2 separate regions of the Homo sapiens genome follow, and region 1 is linked to region 2. The links are contacts of gene promoters, found by promoter capture Hi-C in blood cells and fetal thymus (Javierre and others, 2016). All regions are on one chromosome and are shown on one strand. Each heading gives the region's core, a stretch centred on a gene start or on the middle of the fragment in contact. The rest is flanking DNA. Distances are from core to core; before and after follow the strand shown. Region 1 holds the start of DSC3 (desmocollin 3). Region 2 holds the start of DSC1 (desmocollin 1).

The links. The method cuts DNA at HindIII sites, captures the fragments that hold promoters and counts their contacts. A CHiCAGO score of 5 or more calls a contact.
Region 1: the fragment with the promoter of DSC3 here is called in contact with the fragment with the promoter of DSC1 in region 2 in 1 of 17 cell types (neutrophils); the score reaches 6.4 in neutrophils.

Annotation. Positions count from the first base shown.
Region 1 is chr18:31,041,303-31,048,743 of GRCh38, forward strand. DSC3 (desmocollin 3) reads right to left here and starts at 1,440. Exons shown (of 16, transcript NM_001941.5): 1 at 1,290-1,440. The coding sequence starts at 1,358. LOC124904345 (a long non-coding RNA gene) reads left to right here and starts at 231. Exons shown (of 2, transcript XR_007066445.1): 1 at 231-532; 2 at 1,140-3,924. The HindIII fragment of the contact is 1,969 bases long and covers 363-2,331 here.
Region 2 is chr18:31,159,674-31,166,587 of GRCh38, forward strand. It overlaps DSC1 (desmocollin 1), which reads right to left and starts at 3,183. Exons shown (of 16, transcript NM_024421.2): 1 at 2,859-3,183. The coding sequence starts at 2,921. It overlaps DSCAS (DSC1/DSC2 antisense RNA), which reads left to right. Exons shown (of 4, transcript NR_110785.1): 4 at 2,862-3,116. The HindIII fragment of the contact is 8,252 bases long and covers 1-5,519 here.

The sequences.
Region 1 (7,441 bases), core at 190-2,689, 120 kb before region 2:
CTCTAAGCCGTTTCCATTTGTAGTCACTTCATAAGCTCAGATACTTTGTTGGAACAGTTCCCGGGCAAATGGATGCGCTTATTTGTCCAATTCCTTCTCCATAAACATATCGTAGATCATAACTACCAATCCCATATTCATACCTCGCTGACCTTAAGGGAGGACAACCCTTGGACCCACTCCCACTTGCCAGGGTGGAGGGCCAGGAAGCAGTAAGAATCCGCGAGACCAGACTCGGCTCACTGCCGACGCGGGTATAGACCTCGCTCCCATCGGACCCCATGCGCATCCATGGATGCGGGTAAGTCGCGGGTCCGCGGCTCCTTTCTGGGCGTGCGGAATGAAACTCTGTTGAAGCCTGAAGCTTCGCGTGTAACCGCGCCGCCAGAGTTCCGAACACTTCAAGTCTCCCGTGTTCTCAGAGCATCGTCTCTAACTTCCTCTCCTAGAGGATTTCGTCCTGGGCGGCAGGTTTCCGTAGACTCGAAACCCCAGGCTGTGCTCCGGCCGCGCAGTCCTCCCCGGAGCCGGAGTAAGTACGACGCAACCCCACCGCATCCATCATCCCCCACCACTGTCACCCTCTACCCGCCTCCACACCTCGGCAGCATCCCCAAAACACAACACGACCCCAACCCCCATTCTGGCCCGGTCTTCCCACACTTTCGCGCCCCCGGCACATCCCGCCCCCAGCTGGGTGGCTGGCGGGGGTGGACCGCTTGGGTGAGCTTCTGAATACCCTTTAGGGGAGATACCGAGAAACCCACTTCTCAGGGGCAGCCCCACCAAGGGACCCAGGGACACAGCCCCGGCTCCACTCACTAACGAACCAATCCGGGTCAACTGCGACCCAGAGCTGGGGAGGGGGCAGCCCCTAAATCCCTTTTCAAGTCTGTGCTTTGAGCTCTCAGGGATCCTCTCCACCCAAAGGCGCCCTCCAACCACCATCACCACCAGCTCCACCACCTGGGGAGAAGCGTGAATCCCAACCCCCTGCCCAACCCGCGACGGCGCCCGCCAGAGCGCAGCGAAGCCTGAGCGCGACTCAGAATTCCAACAATCGAACACCTTGTCTCAAAACAAAAAGCTCAGTCCAGAGTCGACCCGCAAACACACGTTTTCTCTCCTCACTCCTGCAGGCCCGAACTTGGGGCTGCTACCAGACCCGCAGCATTGATCTGAGCCGCGGTTGTCACGTTTCGGCCCGCTTTGTCCCCAGCTCCGTGCAGCGTCCAGGGCGGATCCACCCCCGTCCCCACCCCAGCCCTATCCGGCGAGATCTGGCTTACCACGAGGGTCAGCAGCAGATGCAGGCAGACGGCTCCGCGCACGGAGCGCCGGGGCCCAGCGGCGGCCATCGGGATGCCGGGCAGGGCCAGGAGAACGCGGGCGCCGGGAGGGTGCCGAGAGCGAGACCTGCCGAGGTGCAGGGCGCGGGAGGTGCTTTTCTCGCCGCTGCTTGTTTTTAAGTGTATTTGGCCTCTCTCAGGCTTGCCTGCCCGGGAGCAACTTCACTTCTGAAACCGGATTGGACCCAGAGGACGCGGAGAGGCCACTCCTTGTTATTTCTCAAGTTTTATCATCGCCGGCGCGGCTGAGGAGCTGCCCGAGCCTGCCCCTCTGCTCCCCAGCAGCCACCCGGGCGTTCGCGCTCGGGAAAGCGGTCTCTGGCGCACCCTCTGCCAGTTCTCCCACGCCCCTCGGCTGCCCCGCGGCGCTGCCGCCCCGCCCGGCCCGCAGAGAGGCCCTGGCAGCCCAGATCGTCCCAGGGCGGCCCCATCGCCGGCGCTGCGCGGTGCATCTCAATGCAGAACCCCAATCCGCCCGCAGGGATCCCTGCCTCGACACGGGCTCTGCTGGATGCCAGGAACACCCTTGTCATTGGATCAGCGGATCTCCCCTTCGACGTCTGAACAAATTCTGCCAATGTTTTCAGATTAAAGCAAAATACATGTACTGTATTCTCTCCGGATTTGACTAACATGACAAAATACACGACAGAAGGAATTTATCCCAGATGGCATGATAAACAGTTTTTGGCATGTCAGAAATTAAAACCAAATTTAAGAAATTCTAATCTAACCATTTTTACGCACCCAAAATATGAGTGATTACACTCAGCGCTCTATTAACTGTCAGTTTGGGGGACTCATATGAACCTTCTAAAAACGACTTTGTTCTTAGATGTGAATTATTGGTTTACTACTTACTGGTACCAAAATGAAATTTTTCAGGTGGTCAAAGGAATATCTACCACACAAAACCTTCTAAAACGAGGCTTACAGATTCTACATCATGCAACGACTATTTATCAGGGCCCGAAGTCGGCCAAGCTTTGTGTGAGGGCATGGAAGAAAGGAAATGCAGAAAATCTAGTTCCTGTCGGAAATAATTCAAAGTCAGAAAGGGACGAAAGACAATCATTCCTAGCCCAGTAGGCTACACTTTTTAATAGAGATGTCGTTTGTAACACCAGGGGGACATCCTCTTATTTCTCCCTAAACTGAATTTTAAGTTCCCCGAGTTCCCATCTACTGGATTCAGGAGGAAATCCCTCTCAGACATGAGATGCTACTCCTCGAAGTCCATTCAAAAGTTGCAAGGTCGGGAATTTCAGACAGCCAATTAATCATGAAAGGGTGTTATGACCTTCATTCATCTCACTCTGGCTCAAGTCTAATAGACTCCTCGTCGTCTAAGCCATGTATTCCCTGAAGTCTGGGGCTTCCCTGAAACTCATGAGGCTCAGCTTTAAGGGCTCAGACACTCTAAGTTGAGCTTCCCAGTGTGAATCTCCCAGGCACCCGTCAGTGGAGGTCTCTGTATGTAAGAGCTCTTCCAGTCTCAGAGAAAGTTCTCCAAACTTCTCTCCACTCCAGGGTTTTCACCTCCCATCCTCCACGTGCCTCCAGCATGACCTCAGAGAAAGCTTCTCAAAGTCACTTCCAGCCCCCCAGCCCTCAGAAACTCAAGTAGAATGGTTTTCTTGAACTTAGATGAGTAAAGGAGATGGCTAGCACCAATCTCCCTCCCTCACCACTTTGAATTCACTGTTAGAGTGAAGGGTTGAGGTGTTAAGGCATTTTAGAGGAGAGGATCTAACTTAGCTGAAGAAAGCTTTGAAGAAGCAAAATGTTGCGATAAGCCCAGCAAAGAAAAGGGAAAGGGTAGGAGAATGCTTCAAGATAACACAACATCAACAGGACATGAGAAGCTCTGGAGAGCCTTGTGAGAGTGCCCCAGGGTAAGAAAGCAGAAAGGGGTTGGTTCAGAATGGTTACATGCAATGGCTGGGAATTCGGTTAGAAAGATGGTTCATGACAAACCATGCTGAGGAATTTAATTTCATCCTGACAGAAATGGAGAACCATCCATTCAATGTGTGAAAAGGGTTAGTAACTACTGTTACAAAATTGTCACTTTTGGTGAGTTTGCACATATGAACCCATTTGTGCTGTAATATGGCTTTCTTTAATACCTAGGGAATGAAAGACTTTGAAGTGTTTGTCTTTATTCTAACTATTCTTAGTTTTTCTATGATTTCAACTCTATCTTCAGATTTATGAGAGTCTGGCCTGGTTAGGACTGTCCTTTGAAAGACTAAAACTCTAAAATTGCTATCCCCTGATTATTTTGACTGTGCTGTGTAATAGAGGATATTTATTGTTAAGCCTACTGACTAATATGACAATTGCTGTGAGCTTCCATTTTTAGCTTCCGCAAAATAAAAGTTGTAGGAATCTGCTTTAGAAAAACTCGAAGAAAACATATTATGGATATTTTTAACTTGTATTGCAAAATTCTAGGTGCAATACGAACATTAATAACTGAATGTAGTATTAGTAATGATTTTGGAATTTCCTGTTTGTCCACCATGAGTATATTAATCTAAGTCCTAATAAAAAGCAATGCATTTTTATCATATAAAGAAGAATCTTTACAACATAAATATGACTTGAGGATAAATTAAATTGCTTATATTTTTTGCTTATATTTTCCCATATAAATTATGATTTAAAATAGTTTGTTGATTTTTTTTCAAATATGAGCTTCAGTTTAGATATAGTTAGAACTGGATGCTTTCTATTATAAAATTAATTTTAAATCATCATGAGGTATCATAAAGCATAAAGAGTTTTCTGAACTGTCTTTATCTTAATACCCTATCCCTCAAACTGCAAAGTCAGTTGGAAGTCACTGCTAAAAGGATAATGAGCCAAAATGGGAAAATAATTTATTATTTTCCCTTGTTATGTTCTTAGTTTGAAGGGTAAGAGCAGCAATAACAAAGGATCAAAAATGGGAATTGACTTTAGACTAAAGAACAAAACTTCAGAAATTCAGGTGAATTGCAACATTTTCAGCAGAAAGCAAACAAGATAATGAAGAAGAGTACTCTTACTCTGGACCTATGAGAAATCTCTGACTACGGAAGAGCTAACTAGTCTTAGGAGGTGGGACCTGACCTCTGGCCCACGAGCCAGGCTGCCTTGCACAACTCAGCACCAACAGGTGCTAGTCTAACACACCTACTCATCTCAGTGGCTTACCTGGACGGTGACATGGCAACTGTAGGTTTCCTCAAACACTCCTACGAAATACCGCCAGGACAACTGTACAATGTTTGAGACAAACTTACGAGAAAGAGCAGAGGAATTTATGAAAAAAAAAGCTTGAATTAAAAACAAGTAAAAGATTTGTTTACACCTGTGGCACAAAAATGAGTTCCGCCATGGGACATGAACTCAGAAGCATGTTTGGAATATTATTTAGGATAAATAGCCGCAGTGTGACTAGAGGTTCTGCAGATTTCCCAGAGCACTATTGAGAACAGCCACCACATTTTGGTCATTTCAAAAGACTGCTGGGGCCTTGAGGATAACAGAAGGTTTAAGTCAAAAGTCAATTATAAATATCGCATTGCTGCCCACTACCAGAGCCGTCCCAGAATCCCTATGTGCCTCCTTCTCACCTATTTACCCATGGCAAGCACCTAATTAGCACTTGGTGCTAATTTCAATCCAATGAGAATGCTACTCCACACAGCAATGAGGACCTCAACTCTAGATCCAAATGACCCTTGGCCTCCAAGGACATTTCCCCTTCCCCCTGTTCTGCTGTGGGTCTCCTCACGTCCTCACTTCTCATCCTAGGATTCATATCTCCCCAGAATGACTGACAGTAGGACTATCCCTTCCTCTCAGGAGAAAGCTCACGCCCATCCACAGAAATGTGACCTTTCACTATAACCTTGGCAACAATCATTCAAAAGTCGGACATTTGTACATTTCTCAAATTCAGCATTATCCAGTCTAAGTAACACTATTACAATAGTTTAATCCAAATAGGGTGTGCCAAGCTCAGAAAAGTTCCCTTCCAGTATCTCCTTGTTAATTAATGAGTCAAGATCTCTTACAATGGGGTTACTCTTCCTCCACTAAAATCTTCAGACTCCTTTACAAATATCCTCTTCTTCAACCAGTCCTTTTAAGGAGGGAGGAGCAATCTTCCAGTAACTTCCCACTGGCTGGAAGGAATGGTAATTTCCACACAAAAGACAAAACCCTATTGTGTGAGTGATAACTTCTTATAGCAACTAAACTAAAGCCATGTAACAAAGCCCTGATACAGGGTGAACTTTTTGTCCACCTCATCTCAGAATCATCACATAATTCTTCACTTTGATTTCCTCTAGTGTGAAAAATCTCTTTCCACTGGATGAGACTACAGTTTCTCCTGTATGTTCACATGTCTCCAGGAACTCACTCTATGCATCTGTCTGTTCAAAAGGCATTGCTCAAGAGTGAAGGTTACAGGTGTGAATGGGCTGACTGCCAGACCTCATGTGTCATTGATCCCAGAGTCATTCCCTGATACATTGCCCCATCAGTCTTCTTTTTACTCAGAAGTTCAGGATGACCATTCCTTAACATCAGCCTGGAGAAGTGGTGTATCCCCCAGCTTAGATGCCTATTAACTAGCTCTGGAGCAGAGAGGCAGCTTTTGCCACCAGCTCCCCATAGGCTAGCAAATTGTTTAACTCAACAGTCATTTATTATTTTATTTGTTCATAATTACATATTAATTAATGCTATTTACCTCAAGATTTGTTCATCTTGATTTGTCTTTTCTTTTCAGCCTGCCCAGTTTCCCAAGCCTTTTGTCTCTAGATGAGGGGTAGCTTTCTACTAATTAGCTATTTAGTGTTCATTGAGTAGGCGCAATCCCACAACAATAACCAGTTCTTTTCTTGCATTGCTTTCAAGGCTCATATCTGCATCTGTCTTTCAAATGTTATAAGCTACACCCCTCCCTAACTGATAAGCACTAGTCTTGACTTACACACATCTATGACGGGTTATACCAGATCTCTGTTTCTCTAAACAACTCTAATACAGAGGTCTTGCCTGAACATTTAAAAACTGAGTAGCTAGTAATAATCCTAGCAGGTGTGTACGCATGTATCAAAAAGGTTGTTTTGTTCCCCCTCCTAGTAAGATTGCAGCGTTCTTGACAAGTTCAATAAAATTGGTTATTTCTCCCTGTTTCCAAGTTCTGTTTAGACAATGGCCAAGGAAAGCCACGAACTTACTATAATCCTTCACTTTTCAAATGAGACTCTCTGACAAAAATTGTCCTGCTGTGTCCCTGAAGTAATAATATTTTTTTAAGTTTCAGAATACATATATTGGAGAAAAGACATCTGCCAGAAGAACTGCTTTATTTCCTGCTCAAGACAATATTAAGTAGTGATCAGATTATTATCTGGGCCCTCTAATAATGAATTATGTGCTAAATTGCTGCACTGTCCCAAAGATCTAAGAAGAAATTAGAGACCTTGACCTGTCCCCCACTCCTCATATCCTAGGATGGGTGGAAAAAAAAGAAGTTGCAAACAGACAAGCACCATGAATATGATCATGACATCTTTTCCCTGTTATGATGAACTGCCTTTCTGTGATAGTCCCAAGATAATTGACATCAATTTTGGCCAGTCTTAACGTCTCCTTTCTCACTTGCTACACTGAGAGTTGGGCTTTTACTCTTCAGAGAGATTGGAAAGTGATTAGCACACACATGTTCTTAAGACATAAGATAAAGAATATCTTATTTTCTACCACATTCTTTATTACAACATATAAATTATTCTTACAATAAGGTGGTCTGAGCCTTGCTCTGCCAGGCTTTCCCAGTGGCAGTTTTCCAAACTCATCAATTCATAGAATTAAGTACTGTATTACGGCCATTGGCCAGAAGTAGGCCAGATGTTTTTTTTCTCCCAAGATTCTCTAAGGGCCTCTATCCTATTCCTCCCTTGGACTCTTTGTTTAAATTTTGAACAAATGAGGGAAATGATCTTTAATTCACAATAAATATTTGTATTGAGCTATTATCAAGGCAAAAAAAATGAAATTATTTCAGCAGCAACATAATACTATAA
Region 2 (6,914 bases), core at 1,933-4,432:
AAAGGAACCAGCAAAGAGAATAGCTTTAGGAATAGCACTGTCATTTATTTGTCAATGAAAAAAATTAAGTGAATAGTAGTTCTTAGAACCTAAATCATATTGTGTCAATGCAAGAAAATATTTCACAAACCATTGACTTTATATAGAAGTTATACGTCTCTAAGACCATTCATAAATGCCATTCTGATTTTTAGCATGAAGAAAATACTTACCTTTGAAATGCATAATTACATATATGCCCTAATTCTCTAATCATCATTTTACTATTTGAAGTTATAGTTGATGAAGTCTAGAAAATAGTTAAGGGCTTTTTTAACCTCACAGAAAAATAATGCCCCCAAAAAATCATTGTTCTCAAATCAATTTTGTGACTGACTTGGCCAAAACGCCAAAATCTAAATGATCTCAAATCACATGACTAATCTAAAAAGAAATATATGTCAAAATATGGAGAGTATCCTTCAGATGGGTGAAGATTTTTAATTAAATTCAAGGCCCAGCTATTGTTTTTAAAACCTAGGTAGTTCAAAGACATAGACACTATCTGAAAAAAACAAAAGAAAAGCTATCATTTCAAAAATGTCTATAGGTTCAAAATATATTTTACTTCTTTTTCTTGGCATTTTCTGTTTGTTCCTCTTTATCAAAATAACTGCTTTTTTATTATTTAAATATAAGATAGAGTAGAGCTAGGTTTTCCAGAAACATGTAGGTCAATTTTATGATCAGCTTTCAGCTTTTCTCTGAATTCTAGAGTTACGGGACCCATTACTTGCGAGGAGGAAAGAGAATGGATTAACATCCATATTAAGGATGTGCACTTCTTTTCCAGCTCATCTCAAGTCTACCAGATATACTGTAGCAGTCTAATTAAATAGTTTGTAATTTTACAAAAATCTATGTTAGGCAGAAATCTGGAATTAAAAGGCCACATTTTTATTTAGTCCTAATTTAAAAACCACTTTTTAAAACGTGAGACATTCGTATTTATTTAACTTTTTAAATATGTTCATCCCTAATGCCAAGGAACATAATAAATTATACTTAAAGAACTTTCTAAGCATAGACCATACTGTTAATAGTTGTCTAAGTATACAATGTGGAAACAGCATATTGTAATTAGGCTATGCATAAACACATACATATACATATGTACACATACATATGCATATACCTGTACATATACCTATACCTATATATGTATGTGTATGTGTGTATATATATACACACAGTCATATATTGCTTACATTCTAAGAAATGCAACGTTAGGTGATTTCATCCTTGTGCAGACATCATAGAGTATACTTACATACACTTAGAGGATATAGTCTACTACACACCTGGGTTATACCTACATGGTATACACCATGATTTATATATGTATGCCCCATGGTATGCACCATGGTACAGCCTAGGTGTATAGTATATAGTATAGCTTATTGTAAGCTACAAACCTGTACAGCATGTTCCTCTACTGAATACTGTAGGCAATTGTAAGTATTTGTGTAACTAAACATTTTTAGATATAGAAAAAGTACATTAAAATACAATATAAAAGATAAAAAATGGTTCACCTATACAGACGAGCTCCATTATAATCTATGGGACCACTCATATATGTAGTCCATCATTGACTGAGGCATTGTTTTGCAGAGCATGACTGTATATGTGCGTGTGTGTATATATATATAAATGTACATATATATATATAAATATATGAGACATTCTTATAGTTATATCCACACTTCCACTCCCACCCCCATCTTCTTTCCTTCTTGTCCTAGGATTCCATGTTGATGGTCCTCCCTCTGCAGGCAGAGCCACTGAAGGTTTCCATTCATTAAATACTATTCCCGTCTTCAGGTTAAATCACTGACTAAGTGGCTTAGTGACACCCTTTTAGTCAGTTTCAGAGTCAGAAATAAATAAACAGGAGATGAATTGTCCAAGAGATATTAGACAGTACAGGGATCAGAAGCAAAAGAAATGTGGGTAGAATCCTTTGAAACATTTTTACCACATTTTACCAAACTTGTACTAACTTAAGATGGTATCTGAGTTATCGTCTCCCTAAGCAGTTACAGGATGAGAAGGTGACCATCAACCCTGCATTGTATATTATTTACATGGAGAAAATGTTTGTCCTCATACCTGCCATTTCTAAAAATATATTTTGAAACTCAAGTATTTTGCTAAAATGAAAAAATAGGAAACTCACACCTCAGAAATGATGGACGGATGTGTGAAATAACCCCCCTCTCTTCCCTCACCTCCAAAGAAAAAATAGCACCTTACACAGTTACAAAGCTATTAAAAACCCAAGTGGAAGCCAAGTTGAGGATATTTTCAATGACAGTCACATTTTTGTTATTTTTCTTAAACTATTCTTTGCTTAAACTGCTTCGTGGGTAAAATTCAAAAAGTCCTGGATAATTTGCATGTTCACCCAGAATCCTTTCTCTTTTTTTGCAGCTTAGTAGAACTCAGCATGTTAAATAACATGAGTTTATGTAATCACTGGTAGCAGAAGTAAACCTCAGAAACTTCTGGGCCAAATGCCTAAAGAATGAATTCACTTCTCTACTCTTAGAAAATCACCACAGCAGGATGGAAGAGGGATTCCCTTGAAAACTTTTAACACTCTGGCAGTGGGTGCTTGAGAAGTAAGCTGAACACTTTCCATCCTGAATCCCAAGCCTCTCAACTCTTCCCTGAATCTTCCTCAGATCTGCTTTTGTTTTCCCCAATCTCTCTTCTCTGCCTCCCATCCTCACTCCTAGTCTCTTTCAAGCCCAAACTGCAGAGAGGAAGCAGGTAGTAACATGCTTGAATTCCCTAATCCTTTGGTTGTTACTCACCAGGAGAGAGAAAAGGAGCTGCTTACAGAAGATGCTCCCTGGGGCAGCAGAGGCCAGAGCCATCAGAAGCAGTCCCAATGGCCAGGGACGGTGGCCAGATAACAGGGCAGCCTGGGATGCACAGAGCGGCTAAGAAGACGCTGGCACTTGCACAGGGTATTCTGCTGCCACCTTGATGCAGCTGAGCTTGGTTTGGAAGACAGTCCGGAGGCAAGTGATAAACAGTAGGAGGAGCAACGGGAGAATTTCTTTCCCCCTATTCCCTGGCCAGTCTCCTTCCTTCCAGTTCAATTACGTCTAAATGCAAAGAGGCTTTCCTACAAGTGAGGAGGGTGGGGTACAAAACACCCCAAAACCCAGTCAGTAGCTCCTCCTCACAGCAGCTTTCAAAATTTCTCTTGCCACTTAACACATAGGCAGAAGGAGGAGGGAACACCCTTCATCCTCAGCCCTCCTCCCTTTCCCCCAGGTTGATGCTGTGAAGTCCTCCCCAGTTATTACCCACTCCCACAGCCTCCCCTCCTTCTTGGCCTTATTAACCTGTCTTGCCCTCGGGTACAAACATAAATTGTGCACAAACGCCATGCAAGGAAGTGATGCCTCCTCAACTGCCATTGGCAAATCAGAGGACCTAAGCGTGTGTAATCACACTCATCAGAAGTTATCTCCCATCTAAGCATTTAAGTGTCATCGGTCCTGTAGAACACTGTAGTTCTGCTAGAGAACTGGCATTCCAGTTTAAAGCAGCAACTTCATAAAGGCATGGTATCTACTTCCTGTTATTGACTATTCACTGTGGTTGGTTCTCTAGATGTCACAGGAAACTTATCAGAATGTAAAGACTTCATAAAAGAAAGAGAATAAAGAAATAGCTAGCATATAATCTTTCTTGTGGCTTTCCTTTTGTTGTACAAGATGCCACTGCTTTTTACCTTTATATTTTTTCAAGGACAACTACAATCTTTGAGAGCAAGTCTCTCTAAAATCACTCTATTCACCCTAATTACTTGTACATTACACATAGGATATCCTAGCTTAATAGTACAATCAGGCCATCAAGTGTAGATTTTTTTAAACCCTAATGATTCCTCTAACAAGAGCTTTAGCATCATTATTCCTGTCCCAAATTAGTGAGCTCAGTGATACCAATTGCACTCAATGGCAGTGATGGAAGTTAGGACAGAAGGATAAATATTTTCAAATGTTAAGGTAGAGCCCAACACCCATGCTGCTGAGAAGGGAGGAAAGAAAGGTTTTCTTCAGCTTATTTGACAATGGGAACAATTTCTCCTTGTATGTAGAGACAGAAATAAATGTAACTGCTTCATTAGAATTAGAAGCTAGGAAGATTTGGAAAATGAATGACCCAGGAGAAAAAAAACTAAAAGATATCTTGTAGTATTTTATTGCTAGTGGTATACCCACTAATAAACATATTTTGTGACTGCATTGGAATTTGATTTCTCAATCAGAAAATACAGTCATTTTAATGGAATATTTTTATATCTGGCGTTTTGGGAGAAAAGAATGGGAATATAGAAATAGAAAAATTACTTAGATGTATATGTGTACAGCCAAGTGTAATTCTGTGCATGTTTAAGCATCATCTAAGTATATATTTAGATAGATAGATAGACAGATAAATAGATAGTCATACAGCTTAAATAATTCAAAGACAAATTCTCCAACCCTAGAAAATAGAAACACATTTTTTTCAGCTAATGAAGTTATCATTACCTTTTTCTATAACATGATATTCTCCACTGAACTAGGAAGATATAGAAGAGCAAAATTAAATTGGTGTTACTGAAAAAATGGCATATATTGGTTGGATGAAGAGATTCCAGGCACTGCTCAATTCAAATGAATCCAGAATACTCTCCACAGTTCTGGGAAGTTGATGTTCTGATCCTACTTCTTTTGGCCTACTTTCTGCGTGCTCTCTTTTCCCATTATCTATCTTTCTCAAAGGTAATAGAAAAACTTGTGTAAAAGCTAACCCCAAATTATTGGTTTGCAAATCTGTTACATTACTATTTCTCCCATATTTTGTATTTGCACACAAAGGTTTCCTAAAAATAAAATATAGGCACTTTATAGGAAAAAATAATTTATTATTACAAATTATTGACTCTTCCTTAAACGTGAATCTACCTTAAAATTAAATGAAAACAAGACATATTTCTTCCAATTTTCTGGCATTAGATCATTCAGTAAGAGCTCTGTCTTAGTCTGTTTTCTGCTGCTGTAAAGAAATACCATAGCCTGGGTAATTTATTAAAAAACAAAACAAAACAAAAACAGAAATTTGTTTGGTTCATGGTTCAGGAGCCTGGAAAGTCCAAGAGCATGGCATGGGCATCTGATGAGGGTCATCCCATGATGGAAGGCAGAAGACAGAAGCCAGTGCACAAGACAGACAGGGAAGTGGCCTAACTTATCCAGTTATCAGAAGTCCACTCTGATGATAACTAACCCACTCCCGAGGGTGGGGACTTCATGGCATAATCAACTTTTAAAGGTCCCACCTCCTAACACCATTACAACGGCAACAAAATTTCAACATGACTTTTGGCAGGGACATTCAAACCACTGCAAGCTCTATTTTATTTTTATTTCTATCTGTATGTTTGTTTGTTTTAACCTATGTCTAAATTAATAAGCTTAAGCAAAAGATTGTTAGTGGTTAACAACTTGGACTTAGAAGCTAGACTGCCTGGGTGCAAATCCTCTCTTTACTACTTATTCGCAGTATAACCCCTAGGCAAGTTAGTTAACTCTTCTGTGCCTCGGTCTCTTTATAACATGGGGACAATAATAGTGGCTAATTCATAGGTTGTTATGAAGATTAAATGTGATATTATAAAGAAAATACTTCCAACAGTGTCTGGCTCAGAGCAAGCACTAATATTTTACACCATATAATTGCCTAGGCATGCAATAAAAAGTTGAAGAGACTGAACTTCAAATGAAACAAACACAAAGTTATTGCAAATCCAAGGTCTGTTATGTAGAGGCTACCTAAAGATACATGAATAGGTTTATTCATTGAACAAGTAGTTAAGGGGTTACATACTGGGCTCTGGCCTTTGCTAGGAGAAAAGCATCATATAGGGTGAAAAAAAGAAGACAGAAATCTTATGACGTTAAAATAAAGGCACACTTTATGGTGAAGAACATGCAGTTATCTTTCCAGTTCAAAAGATAAGATAAAAAGAGGCACTGCAGCAAATATTAAATATATTAGCCATTTAAAGAGAAATTAAGAACAATGATTAAATGTTGAGAAACCCCTATAGAAGAAAATATTTTATTTTAAATACATAAGTATTGCATAATCTGTTTTCTACCACACATTTATGGTCATACAGAGAAAGATTTAAATGTAAAGATCCACATGACTCTTGTATTTCTTTAGTTTTTTTTTTTTTAACCTTAAGGCACATCAAGGAAAAACACCTTTTTATAAATTTAAATAATATATTTTATGGAAATACAGTGACAAATTTCATTAGAGATTTTTTTTATGACCAACTTACAGAAAGGGCTCATTATGAATAAATTCAGGGCCTCAAAAAAGCCATTTACAGAGAGAACCATTATCTCTGTAAGATGACCTAATTTATTCTAAAAGACTCCTAGACTGGTAGGAATGCTGTACACATTGATGAAGCCATTACAAGGCACTTTGGGTTAAATATGAATGACTAAATATACCAAAAACTACAGGTGTAAAAAAAGGGTTTGTGAGTTTAGTATGGGTGAAGTGTATGAACAAAGAAAAAGAACTGTTAGCTATTAAAAAAAAAAAAAAAAAAAGCTTGGCTCCCATGAGTTCAGTGTACTGCAGTGGAAACTCCTTCAATCTCACTAGACTCACAGTCTTTTGCCTGGGTAAAGGGCTATTAAAACTTAGAAGTAACTCATGTGCACTAATAATTACTAACAATGATTTCCTAAGGCTGTTTGCGTAGAATAGTGATTAATTTTATATAAAATAATCACTCCCCATTATTATCAAAACTGTTGTCAAACCTATGAAAAGAAACATTAGCA